Regions from separate parts of the Homo sapiens genome. Here regions 1 and 2 are each linked to region 3. The links are contacts of gene promoters, found by promoter capture Hi-C in human tissues and cell types (Jung and others, 2019). All regions are on one chromosome and are shown on one strand. The core of a region is centred on a gene start or on the middle of the fragment in contact, and the rest is flanking DNA. Distances in the headings are between cores, read along the strand shown.

The links. Contacts are between HindIII fragments. The study calls those that stand out against the background at their distance.
Region 1: a fragment that was not itself captured here is called in contact with the fragment with the promoter of GLOD4 in region 3 in 5 of the 25 tissues and cell types used here (H1 embryonic stem cells, IMR-90 fibroblasts, lymphoblastoid cells and 2 more).
Region 2: a contact is called between a fragment that was not itself captured here and the fragment with the promoter of GLOD4 in region 3, in 1 of the 25 tissues and cell types used here (mesendoderm cells).

Annotation. Positions count from the first base shown.
Region 1 is chr17:1,027,394-1,031,132 of GRCh38, reverse strand. All of the region lies in intron 16 of ABR (ABR activator of RhoGEF and GTPase), which reads left to right. Among named protein-coding and RNA genes, the nearest start is that of MIR3183, 6.7 kb to the right of the region's middle. RefSeq lists an enhancer at 415-584. The HindIII fragment of the contact is 7,966 bases long and covers 1-3,739 here.
Region 2 is chr17:937,234-941,424 of GRCh38, reverse strand. All of the region lies in intron 1 of NXN (nucleoredoxin), which reads left to right. Among named protein-coding and RNA genes, the nearest start is that of NXN, 40 kb to the left of the region's middle. The HindIII fragment of the contact is 5,440 bases long and covers 177-4,191 here.
Region 3 is chr17:780,795-784,857 of GRCh38, reverse strand. It overlaps GLOD4 (glyoxalase domain containing 4), which reads left to right and starts at 2,578. Exons shown (of 9, transcript NM_016080.4): 1 at 2,578-2,692. The coding sequence starts at 2,603. MRM3 (mitochondrial rRNA methyltransferase 3) reads right to left here and starts at 2,505. Exons shown (of 4, transcript NM_018146.4): 1 at 2,166-2,505; 2 at 1,531-1,775. The coding sequence starts at 2,479. RefSeq lists enhancers at 1,978-2,526, 2,198-2,547, 3,548-3,647. The HindIII fragment of the contact is 5,823 bases long and covers 938-4,063 here.

The sequences.
Region 1 (3,739 bases), core at 188-2,687, 250 kb before region 3:
GGGTCTGGGGGCTCGAGGCTTCCCTTCAGGGACCACCCATCTGACTGTGGGCCCAGTGCCCGCCGGGCACCAGGCGTTCCGTCCATGTGCCAGGGCAGACCGCCGGTGCCCCTGCAGCCCCAGACCTGAGTTGGGATTAAAATCTGAGATAGAAGCCGACTGTCCTGCAGCTGGGCAGGCTGCCTCGGGGCTGGCTTGGGGCCCTGGCATCAGGCACGTGAGGAAGAGCCAGACCCAGCGCCCAGCGCACAGGAAGTGCTCGATAACTCTGCAGATCAAATCAACTGTCCGAGTTAGCTGTCTCAGAGTGCCAGTCCGGCTGGCCAGGGCTGGGCCCATCCATCAAGAGAGCAACAAGGGAGGCCTTGGCCAGTCCGTGGTGGGGATCTGCAGCTCCTCCTGAGGCTCACAGGACCTCTCTGCAGGCTCTTACTGCCAGCCGGCATTGAGGCTCCTGGCATCAGCCAGGACGAAGTGATCTTGGGCTCACTGGCCCCTCGTTTTGTTTCAGCTCCTGCCATGGGGCATACTTGACCTCCCAGAGGTGACATCAGCCCTGGAAAGTGCTGGGCAGGGCAGCAACTTGAGCTGTACTGCACTGGCCCCTGTGTCACCTTCAGCCTCCCTGGGGACTGGGCTAGCAGAGCCCTGCTGGCCCCAGCTGCTGCCAGAGCCCCTCTGTGCTGAGGCAGCTGTCTGTGCCCGGCAGCGTGGACTCATCCCCTCCCCAGCCCCTGCTGAGGCCAGCAGGCACCAGCCCAGAGCTCACCATCCATCCCCAAACGTCAGGGTTGGCAAGAAACTGACCTGGCAGGTTCCGGGTCCAGCGCCAGCCAAACAGGGCGCTTCCAGTTTACCTGCCCCTTTGAGGAGGTGCCTGGTGGGCAGGGGGCAACTTTTAAACCTGAGGTCCCAGACTTTCAGTTCTTTCCCTATGCATTTGTGGCCGGCAGAACTGAGAAGCCCCTTCAAGAATTCCTTAGCTGGGTTTGCCTCTGGCAGTGCCTGGTGGCTCCGTGTCTGATGGGGATCTCTGGGCAGGGGTGGTGGCCAGGCAGACGCCGGGCTATTGAGCTGCTGAGCAGTTGGCGTCAGTGCAGCTCAGGGTGGCCCCGGCCCTGGGCTGCTCTGTGTGACGAGCGATTCCATCCCCTAACGTGTGCTGTGTGCCACAGTGTGTCCGTGTCGTGGACGCAGGGGTCAGCGCTGTGGCGGACGGAGGGACGTCTGCCACAGTGTGTCCGTGTCGTGGACGCAGGGGTCAGCGCTGTGGTGGACGGAGGGACGTCTGCCACAGTGTGTCCGTGTCGTGGACACGGGTCAGCGCTGTGGTGGACGGAGGGACGTCTGCCCTGTGCTTCCCACCTCACTGTGCGCAGGCCAGCGGGTGAGCAGCAGAGTCAAAGGGCCAGGCCTCTTGCTTTCTATCCTCAGCCACATTAACCTGGCATTTTCCTGCAGGAGCTTCACAGTTGGGCCGAGGGGCTGGGACTAGGCAGTTTCGTTTCGGTGGGGTAAGGGAAGGGTGCCTGGTACTGCCCAGACTGGCAGGAGGGATTGCCTCATTAACTCCTCGTTAACTTTGCCCTGAGTGATGCTGTGGGTGCGAGAAACACCGGTGGCCCTCCTGCTTCCACTGACCTGAAGGTTCATTAAAGGCTGGAGGCGGGGCGTGACTCATCCAGGGCTGGGATTAAACAATCTGTTCAGATGGAAAGGTCTCATGATCAGAACTGAGCCTTTAAATAGTGCAGGGCCTCTGGTTTCTGGGGGAGAGGAGGCAGGGACACTCACGGAGGATCCTTTGGGTACCAGCGGGGGTCCCTGTGGTTGGGCTGTTCTTGTCACCGGAGGAGAGTTCAGGGGCCAAAGCCTCATTCCAGCCCCTGACTTGGCAGTCAGCTTTTTGTGCGAGTGTTTAGCTGGGAGACACGTGGCATCTGGGTTTGTGGGTTCAGCCAGGGCTCTCGGTATTGAACTTCGCGTTTCTACTTTTCTTTCCTTTTCCCTGTTTGTTTTTTTTTTTTTTTGCCTCAAATCACACTCAAGTAGACCAGGCCCGGTGCCTTCCTCTCCCTCCCATCCTTCCCTCTTCTAGATTCTTGGTTGAGCTTTGGATGGGAAGGGGCTGAATTCTAGATTCTCGCTTGAGCTTTGGAGGGGAAGGGGCTGAAGGAGGAACCCCCCCACCCTGCCCCCGCAGCATCCCCTTGTGGGAGCCGTGAGGAGGCTAAGAGGGCCTGAAGGGAGGCCGGTCCAGAAGCATTTGTCTGTCGGGGAAGTTGAGGCCCTTATAGAGCAACCAAGTCCAAGACGCTCCTGACCCAGACCAGGCCAGATGCTGGCCGGCGGTGGGGACTCAGGCTGAGCCGGCAGGGTGTAAGGAGATTGAGTGCAGCTTCAGGTGACCTTGTCTCTGCCCTGAAGCACAGCCATGTGGGTCTGAGAATCCCCTACTTCCAAAGAGCTCCTCTTAAGCTGGACACCGGCACTGCTGACCCCCACGGTGAGTCCCGTGTTCTGTGATGGGAGCTGCTGCCTTTGCTTCAGAGAGGATCAGAGGTGTTACCTGAGGAAGGGCGGGGTGGAGAGCCCCTCTTGGGCCATTCGGGGAAGCTTCAGGCTCATGATGGTCTTAGAAGAAGGTCCCTTTCTTGGATCACCTGATGTCAGGAGTCCAAGACCAGCCTGGCCAACATGGAGAAGCCCCGTCTCAACTAACAATGCAAAAATTAGCCAAGTGTGGTGGCTCACGCCTGTCATCCCAGCACTTTGGGAGGCAGAGGCGGGTGGATCACCTGAGGTCAGGCGTTCGAGACCAGCCTGGCCAACATGGTGAAACCCCGTGTCTACTAAAAATACAAAAAAAAAAAAAATAGCCGGGCATGGTGGCGGGCACCTGTAATCCCAGCTGCTAGGGAGGCTGAGGCAGGAGCATCGCTTGAACCTGGGAGGTGGAGGTTGCAGTGAGCCGAGATCATGCCACTGCACTCCAGCCTGGGCAACAGAGCGAGACTCGGTCTTGGGGTGGGGGGAGGAAAGGGTCCCTTTCTTTGTCAGCTTGATCGCCACCGCAGGACAACCCCACCCCTCACAGAGCCTGTCGTTTATTCCTTCTTGATGGTACCAGGTGTGCAGACCACGTGCACACCCCAGAGGTTCACTCTACCACTCACTTGGCCATCGAGGGTACACAGGTGCTGGGTACAAGATACAGATATGTCTTGGGCTCGTCTACTTTATTTTATAATCCAGTCTGGGCGTCAGGAAAGATCTCGCAGCCTTCTGCAATAGAAGTCTGGCCTGGCCCGGCTGCCCACCGCCCTTCCTTGTTTCCCGGTGGGAAGAAAGCTTCATCGTGCGTCTTCTCTGTTCACACACACCCCCATAGCGACCCCTCAGCCACAGACAGGGGACTACAGTGCTGCCTCCCCCGAGAGCTGGAGGCCCCTACACCAGCCCACCTCTTCCTGGGCCTATGTGTGGGTCCTGACTGCGGCCAGGCTGGCTGACAGGTTGGCAGTGGGGTCGGGCGACCCTCCCTCTTTTCCACAGCACTTACCCACCTGCCGAGTGGGCAGACCTCACTGCTGGGGCCTCATGAGTACTCTCTGATCTCTCTGCCAGGCCAGCTCCCAAGAGGCTTGCTTGAGTCCGCAGAGCGGGAACCCTGGACTCTGAGAATCTGATGAAGGTTCTGGAGGCCACTCAGACACAGAGCCACCCCATGCACACACTG
Region 2 (4,191 bases), core at 1,647-4,146, 160 kb before region 3:
TTGTTCGCTGTAAATCCAGGGAGGTGTTTGGTGAATTCATGGCTGCACCCTGGAATCTTGTTCACTGTAAATCCAGGGAGGTGTGTGGTGAATTCATGGCTGCGCCCTGGAATCTTGTTCGCTGTAAATCCAGGAAGGTGTTTGGTGAATTCATGGCTGCACCCTGGAATCTTGTTCACTGTAAATCCAGGAAGGTGTTTGGTGAATTCATGGCTGCACCCTGGAATCTTGTTCACTGTAAATCCAGGAAGGTGTGATGTGAGTTCATGGCTGCACCCTGGAATCTTGTTCACTGTAAATCCAGGAAGGTGTGATGTGAGTTCATGGCTGCACCCTGGAATCTTGTTCGCTGGAAATCCAGGGAGGTGTTTGGTGAATTCATGGCTGCACCCTGGAATCTTGTTCACTGTAAATCCAGGAAGGTGTGATGTGAGTTCATGGCTGCACCCTGGAATCTTGTTCACTGTAAATCCAGGAAGGTGTGATGTGAGTTCATGGCTGCACCCTGGAATCTTGTTCACTGTAAATCCAGGAAGGTGTTTGGTGAATTCATGGCTGCACCCTGGAATCTTGTTCACTGTAAATCCAGGAAGGTGTGATGTGAGTTCATAGCTGCACCCTGGAATCTATTTCACTGGAAATCCAGGGAGATGTGATCTGAATTCATGGCTGCGCCCTGGAATCTTGTTCACTGTAAATCCAGGAAGGTGTTTGGTGAATTCATGGCTGCACCCTGGAATCTTGTTCACTGTAAATCCAGGAAGGTGTGATGTGAGTTCATGGCTGTGCCCTGGAATCTTGTTTTTAAGGGTCCTGCAAAGCCCGCTGGGCTGTTGTGAGATGAGGCATGCCGTCCGTACCTGGTTCTGAGTGGTGAAAGGGTCTGGGTGATGTCTTCGTTAGGGGCTTTTGACCTCAGTGGAATTGATTTTTAACAGAGACATTGCGTTTGGAAGTTGCCCACGGCCCTTTTTCCTTCTTTTTACCAAAACATCTATTGGGATAGTTTCCTCTTTTAAAAGTAATATTGAGGCCAGGTGCAATGGCTCACGCCTGTAATCCCAGCGCTTAAGGAGACAGAGATGGGAAGATAGCTTGAGCCCAGGAGTTTGAGACCTGCCTAGGCAACATAGCGAAACCCTATAATCCACAAAAAGGGGGAGAAAGAGACCAAAAAAAAAAAAAAATTGAGGCCAGGCACAGTGGCTCATGCCTGTAATTCCAGCACTTTGGGAGGCAGAAGTGGGAGGATCACCTGAGGCCAGCCTGGGGAACATACTGAGACCCCCCCACCTCGATCTCTACCAAAAAAATACAAAAATTAGTTAGCTGGCGTGGTGGCCTGTGCCTGTGGTCCCGGCTACTCAGGAGGCTGAGGTGGGAGGATCACTTGATCCCGGCAGTTTGAGGCTACAGTGAGCCATGATCACACCACTGCACTCCAGCCTGGATGACAGCAAAAAAAAAATAAGAAAAAAAAGGTAATACTGGAAGCGGGAGTTGACTGCACTCTCCCTGCCCCACTGCAGGGCCCGCCACAGTGTTGCTCATGCCTGCAAATTATATTTTTTAAAAAGTAATAATGGATCATCGAATACAAAAAAAGCATGTGGGGGATCAGTCTCCTGCAGACCCCCTAGCTAGAAGCATGGATGTTCCGACATCACAAGGCAGCCTTGTCTTTTCCTATGTAGGCACGTACGTGTGTGTCTTACACAATTAGGATGTATTTTGAGTGTATTTTCATGTAAGAACGTATTCTTTAAAAAGATGATCTCTGGCCAGGCGCGGTGGCTCACGCCTGTAATCCCAGCACTTTGGGAGGCCAAGGTGGGAGGATCACCTGAGGTCAGGAGTTTGAGACCAGCCTGGCCAACATGGTGAAACCCCATCTCTACTAAAAATATAGGAATTAATTAGGCGTGGTGGCGGGCACCTGTAATCCCTGCTACTGGGGAGGATAAGGCAGGAGAATCACTTGAACCTGCGAGGCAGAGATTGCAGTGAGCCAAGATGGTGCCACTGCACTCCAGCCTGGGTGACAAGAGTGAAACTCTTGTCTCAAAAAAAAAAAAAAAAAGCTGATTTCTAATAGTTACGTGGTATTTTGCTGTATCTATCTGTCTATGTGTATATATGTACCATATTTAATAGTTTCCAGTTTCCTATGATAGGAAATGTAGGCCAGTTCCAGATTTTGCTGGAATAACCAGCGCTGTTATAAACTTGTTTTTATATTCTTCTCTGTGCACATCTTTGGTGGTTCTCTAAGGATAAATTCCTAGAAGAGGAATTGCTAGGTCAAAGATTCTGTTATATTTTTAGCTCTCATTTTCCTTTCATTTGTTCTTTTCTTTCTTTCTTTTTTTTTTGAGAGGGAGTCTCACCCTTGTCGCCCAGGCTGGAGTGCAGCGGTGAGATCTTGGCTCACTGCAGTCTCTGCCTCCCAGGCTCAAGCAATTCTCCTGCCTCAGCGTCCCGTGTAGCTGGGATTACAGGAGCCCGCCACCACACCCAGCTAATTTTTAGTAGAGACGGGGTTTTGCCATGTTGGCCAGGCTGGTCTTGAACCCCTGGCCTCAAGTGATCCGCCCGCCTCGGCCTACCAAAGTGCTGGGATTACAGGCATGAGCCACCGCGCCCAGCCTGTTCTGTTCTTAATTTTATCTTCTTTTTCATCATTTTTCTTTTGATTTTGCCTGTTTTCTTTCTTTTTGTTTTTGTTTTTTGTTTTGTTTTTTGAGACAGTGTCTCACTCTGTCACCCAGGCTGGAGTGCAGTGGCGCAATCTCGGCTCACTGCGACCTCCGCCTCCCCAGGTTCAAGTGATTCTCCTGCCTCCGCCTCCCAAGTAGCTGGGACTACAGGGGCTCGTCACTAAGCCCGGCTAAGTTTTGTATTTTTTTAGTAGAGACGGGGGTTTCGCCATGTTGGCTGGGCTGATCTCGAACTCCTGACCTCGTGATCCGCCTGCCTCAGCCTCCCAAAGTGTTGGGATTACAGGCGTGAGCCGCCGCGCCCGGCCGGGCTGGGGACCTTTTCTTTGGCTCGGCCTTCGCACTAGCTGTGAGCTGTGTTTGTGGCCAGCTCACTTGCTGTCATATCAGGGCAAGCTCTTGCCGCCTGCTCTAGATCTAACCGCCGACCTGGGCCTTCCCATCATCTCGTGCTTTTCAAAAACTGCTTTCTGGAGCAGTAAAACCGCCCAAGTGGAAAGCTTGTTCCTCTCCGGCCTCTTTTGTCCTCTGACCCTGACCCCTCCGAATAGGCATATTCACAGGGTTCTCCTGGGGCCTCTGCCCCTTAACCTCTGTGTATTTGCTGCTACGCAGAAGGCCATTGCAAGGTTGGCCTTGGTGGGTTTTCAAATGTGGTCCCAGCTGCAGCCATTCCTCTTCCTTCCTGTCCTTGTACCAAAAGCAGAAGCCTTCTGGGTTCTTCTTCAGCGACGGCCCCTGCGCCCCGTGGCTCCTGTGGCCTTTCCGCTGGGCGCAGCGTTTTTCTTCCCTCGTGGCTGCTGAGCGCTGCTCTGGGCTATGTGACTTCAAAGCCATTCCCCCAGAGGTAGCTGTCCTTAAACTAAAACTGAAACGAAAGACATTTCTGAGCTCCTTAAAAAATAATCATCATCATCGAACGCCCCGTGAATTCTCTGCTTTTCATGTGGTTCCCGGCGTCCCCGTGACAGCGTGACCTGTTGTGGGCTGCCAGCTCGGATGCCTTTGATGTCTGTCTCCAGGATACTTCCCTGGAATCTGTGCAGAAAAGAGTGAAATTGGAGTGAGTGTGTGTGTTGGGGAGGGCGGTGGGGGGACCCCAGGAACTTTGGGGGTGTGTTCTGAAGGAAACGAGCTTGAACCGGCAATAGCCTCGGAGAAGTGTGCGTTCCTCTCGATGACGGAGAGTTTTGGCTTTTCCCTCCTTTTGTCCCTCCCCACCTGTTTTCCCTGAAGCTGCCCCTTTGGTTCTCACTGTGTACGGATCACCGCAGAGCCCCCTTCTCCAGGTGTGTTCCTTGTGTCCTGAGTTCTCAAGCAGCCTTGTGGGTCCCTGTTGGAAGCTGATTCCTTCCGTTTCCTCTGGCCGCTTCCCTCTTGGACTCCTGGGCTCTTCTTTTTTGCCCTGCACCTTGCCCCCTGCCCTCCTTTTTCTTCCTTAAGAAAAAATGCACCCAGCACCTTGGGAGGCCGA
Region 3 (4,063 bases), core at 1,329-3,828:
AGTCACAGATGGCCAAAAGCCATTCAGTAGGGCTGAGGACCTTAGAAGTCCTTTACTTCTACTTGGATGTCTGTGGTGATGAGAACCCACTATACGGAGGCCCTACTTATGTCGCTGGATTCTGGGGAGTGTCTGTCTAAAGCCTGACAGGTGCTGCCAGTTCCTATCCATTTCTCCCTTATTCCCTGCCCTCAAATCTAAAATATAGTAACATAAGGATAAGCCAGGAAATGATGAAAGCAGGTATGATGATGAAGTTCAAGATGGGTTGGCCACTGTAAGCACACCTGCCCCAAGTGACAAGCACAAGTTCAAGATGGGCTGGCCACTGTGAGCACACCTGCCCCAAGTGACAAGCACAAGTTCAAGATGGGCTGGCCACTGTGAGCACACCTGCCCCAAGTGACAAGCACGGTAAAAATGAATAACACTTTCACTGAAGCATGGCGTGTGGATTAGAGGGCTGTAGCTAGTGAGAATATGGTTACTTAGCATGAGTAATTCTAGGTACTTTAGTAATCCAAGTCCCCATCCTAGGATCTAAGAGCTCTGAGTGCAGAGGCACAGATCCCTGTGACTCACTGGGTTACAGAGACAAGAGATGGTTCCCCAGAATCTCCTCTCTCAGCAGTTCAAGGATTCAGTTTTCATATCTTAAAACTCCCATGTCAAAAACGTATGAAAAACTTATCTTCTCATATTTAGACCAAAGACTTTGTAACTGCTAATCAACATCGGAGTTACATAAGGTTAAGTCAGATTCAGCCAAATGAAGGAACAGACTAGAAGACAAGGTTCTCTGTTTATTGGGCTAAACGGGGCAGTAAATTGTGGCTTGTACCTCGCTTCTTAGATCTGCTTCTGGAATAAGCAGTTTATTGACAGTTATCACCACATTGGCAGAGGTTTTGCAAAAATGAAGGGCTCAATCTTTCAGTAAACGCTTTCTTAATTTTTAATCTGACATAGAAAGTTGAAGAAGTAATCTAAAAAATAGAAGGTTTGAGGAATAGTGGTTCTTCCTAGAGACCATAAAGAGCCACAACACAAATGATAGTGAAAAACGGGTTTCAATTTCCATTGAAAATACTCTAAGATACACAGGTTTGAGAATTATATTTTTCTAATTGTAACATTTTGAATTTCATTTCAATGCTGCTGTCCTAAGACAAGTATGAGAAATTAATCCTAGGTCTCCACACCTTAAGATACACTGTGTAAGGCCAGGCATGGTGGCTCACGCCTGTAATCCCAGCACTTTGGGAGGCCGAGGCAGGAGGATCACCTGAGGTCACAAGTTCGACGTCAGCCTGGCCAACATGGTGAAACCCCACCTCTACTAAAAATACAAAAATCACCCGGGCATGGTGGCAGACGCCTGTAATCCCAGCTACTGCGGAGGCTGAGGCAAGAGAATCCCTTGAACCCGAGAGGCGGAGGTTGCAGTGGGCCGAGATCGCGCCATTGCACTCCAGCCTGGGTGACAGAACAAGACAAAAAAAAAAAAAGATACACTGGGTAATCACTAACCCATTATTCCTTGTGGCGTTACGAGGTCGGACCAATCCTTGATATCCTCAAATTTCACCTTAATGAGGCTGACACCTTTCAGCTTATCGACTGGCAACTCCTTTAGGTATTCTAGACGGCTAAAGAAGAACATTTTTGGCACAGCTCCAGCCTTGAGAGCGTCTGAAATGAGCCTGCGACCTTCCAGCAGGATCTTCCCTTGTTTTTCCCGAAATGGCCTGGACTTTACTATTGTCATTACACTGCTGTAGATGGAAATAAAAAAAAAAAACAGGTAACTATCAACATCCTTGTTACTGAGACACGCTTAGTTGTAACAGAAATAAAGAGCTACGGAGAGGGCCGGGCGCGGTGGCTCACGCCTGTAATCCCAGCACATTGGGAGGCCGAGGCGGGCGGATCACCTGAGGTCAGGAGTTCCAGATCAGCCTGGCTAACATGGTGAAACAAAAACAACAACAAAGAGCTAAGGAGAAACAGAAGCTAATTCCAAAGACGCTTATTCGGCCCTCTGTGCATAATACAAAAACCAGCGGGCTGTACTGGAAGAAGTCCTCCATCGGAAGGAGGTTAAGGTTCCGCTGTGCGACGGGAAGGGAAACGAGAACATTCGACAGGCTCAAGAACCACATCACCTCAGCCTCCTGTCCCCGGGATAAGCTTTATCGTAGCGAAGCCCAGACTCTTCCCAGGTGCTGGGAGCGCGGGATGCGGACTCCTCGAGCGGTTGTTTCTCTCGTTGCTCCTGGGCACTGGCCTCAGATGGTGCCTTGCGGGGCTGCTTCCCAGGAGCGCGCTTCTGTTCCACCACCTCTCCGGAAGGAAACACCACTTTCACTGGGCTCCGCCGCAGCGCCCGGACCCAGCGCCTCGCGTCAAGGTCCCAAGCCTGGACCACCTGCAGCAACGGTCGCACGACAAACCTCGCGGGTCTCACCAGCGCCGCCATGTTCCCTGAGACCCGGGCTGCGTCACGAAAGCGCGCCGTCGGCGGCTAGTGACGTCACGGCCCGTGGCGCCCTTCGTGGACTGGGCTGTACGGTGCGCGTGACGGCTGCGTGCGGCGGGAATCATGGCTGCTCGCAGAGCTCTGCACTTCGTATTCAAAGTGGGAAACCGCTTCCAGACGGCGCGTTTCTATCGGGACGTCCTGGGGATGAAGGTGCAGGCCGGGGCCGACAGGGGCTGGCGCGCGAGGCTGGAACCGGCGCCCGAGCCGGCCCTGGCGGAGGGAGGGGAAAATGGGTGTGTCGTGAACCTAAGCCGGAGGGTGTCCGACCTTAGGCCCTGCGCGGTGTTCAGCTTCAGGAGCGTGGCGAGTTGCCGTTGGGGATCATAGGCCTTGGAGAAGGGCCTAACACGATTAGTCCCCGCGGTGTGCCCACGCACGTCCTTTCATTTAAGCCACTCGTAAACGTTTATTGAGCCCCGCCCTTGTGGAGCTTACCGTCTACCGGAAAAGACGGTAAATAAAATGTTATATAATGCTTTCTAGTTAATATTTGTGTTTTCCGGTTTGGAGCCTTTGATGTAGATAAAATCAGCGTATTCAGAGTTCTGCTTCTAGCAAGGCTGGTCTGAATAGTCCGTTTCGGATACTCAGTCTCTGAATATATGCTCCAACTCTCAACCCATCTGCTTTTCAACAGCACCCAGAAGCGGTCTGTCTCGGGTCCTGAGGAGCTGTTATTTGCAGGATTCAGTTGGTTGGGGAACTGGGTTTTGGGGACCTCCTTTGATAAGCCAGGGAGGTAGGGAACACACCACTAAGGAAGACTTGAAAGGTGCAAGAGCGCGGTTTAGTGTATAGACGGTGCAATAGACGGGGATCTGAATTCGTCAGGTCATTTTTAAAATATCTGCTATTTTCAGGGTACTACGTTGAGTTTTGGCAACAAAGGTGCAAATGACCCTGATATATATCCTCCATTAGAGCTCATGGCCTGGGTTGGGGTGGGAGTTGGAACTGGATTTGTACGTAGATGATGGTAATGGAAGTCAGAATTTGATAGTGAAAAACCACCAAACTTTCGATAGCAGAAACCACAGAGCTGTCCCTTGTTAGTATTTCCTCGTCGATCAAAAGGTTGTTGCAAAGATTAAACACGTGCCGGCGCGGTGGCCCACGCCTGTAATCTCAGCACTTTGGGAGGCCAAGGCGGGTGGATCACTGGAGGTCAGGAGTTGGACACCAGCCTGGCCAACATGGTGAAACCCTGTCTCTACTAAAAATACAAAAATTAGCCGGGCATGGTGGCACACGCCTGTAATCCCAGCTACTCGGGAGGCTGAGGCAAGAGAATCGCCTGTATCTGGGAGGCGGAGGTTGCAGTGAGCCGAGATCGCACCATTGTGTTCCAGCCTGGATGACGAAAGCAAAACTCCGTCTCAAAAAAAAAAAAAAAAAAAAGATTCAACACCTTATTATATGTATAGTATTTAACATATCGGTAATAGTAGATTATATAAGTGTTAGCCACTATTATAAAAATACAAAAGAAGGAGCGGTTTTCCAACCTGGGTGATGAGGAAA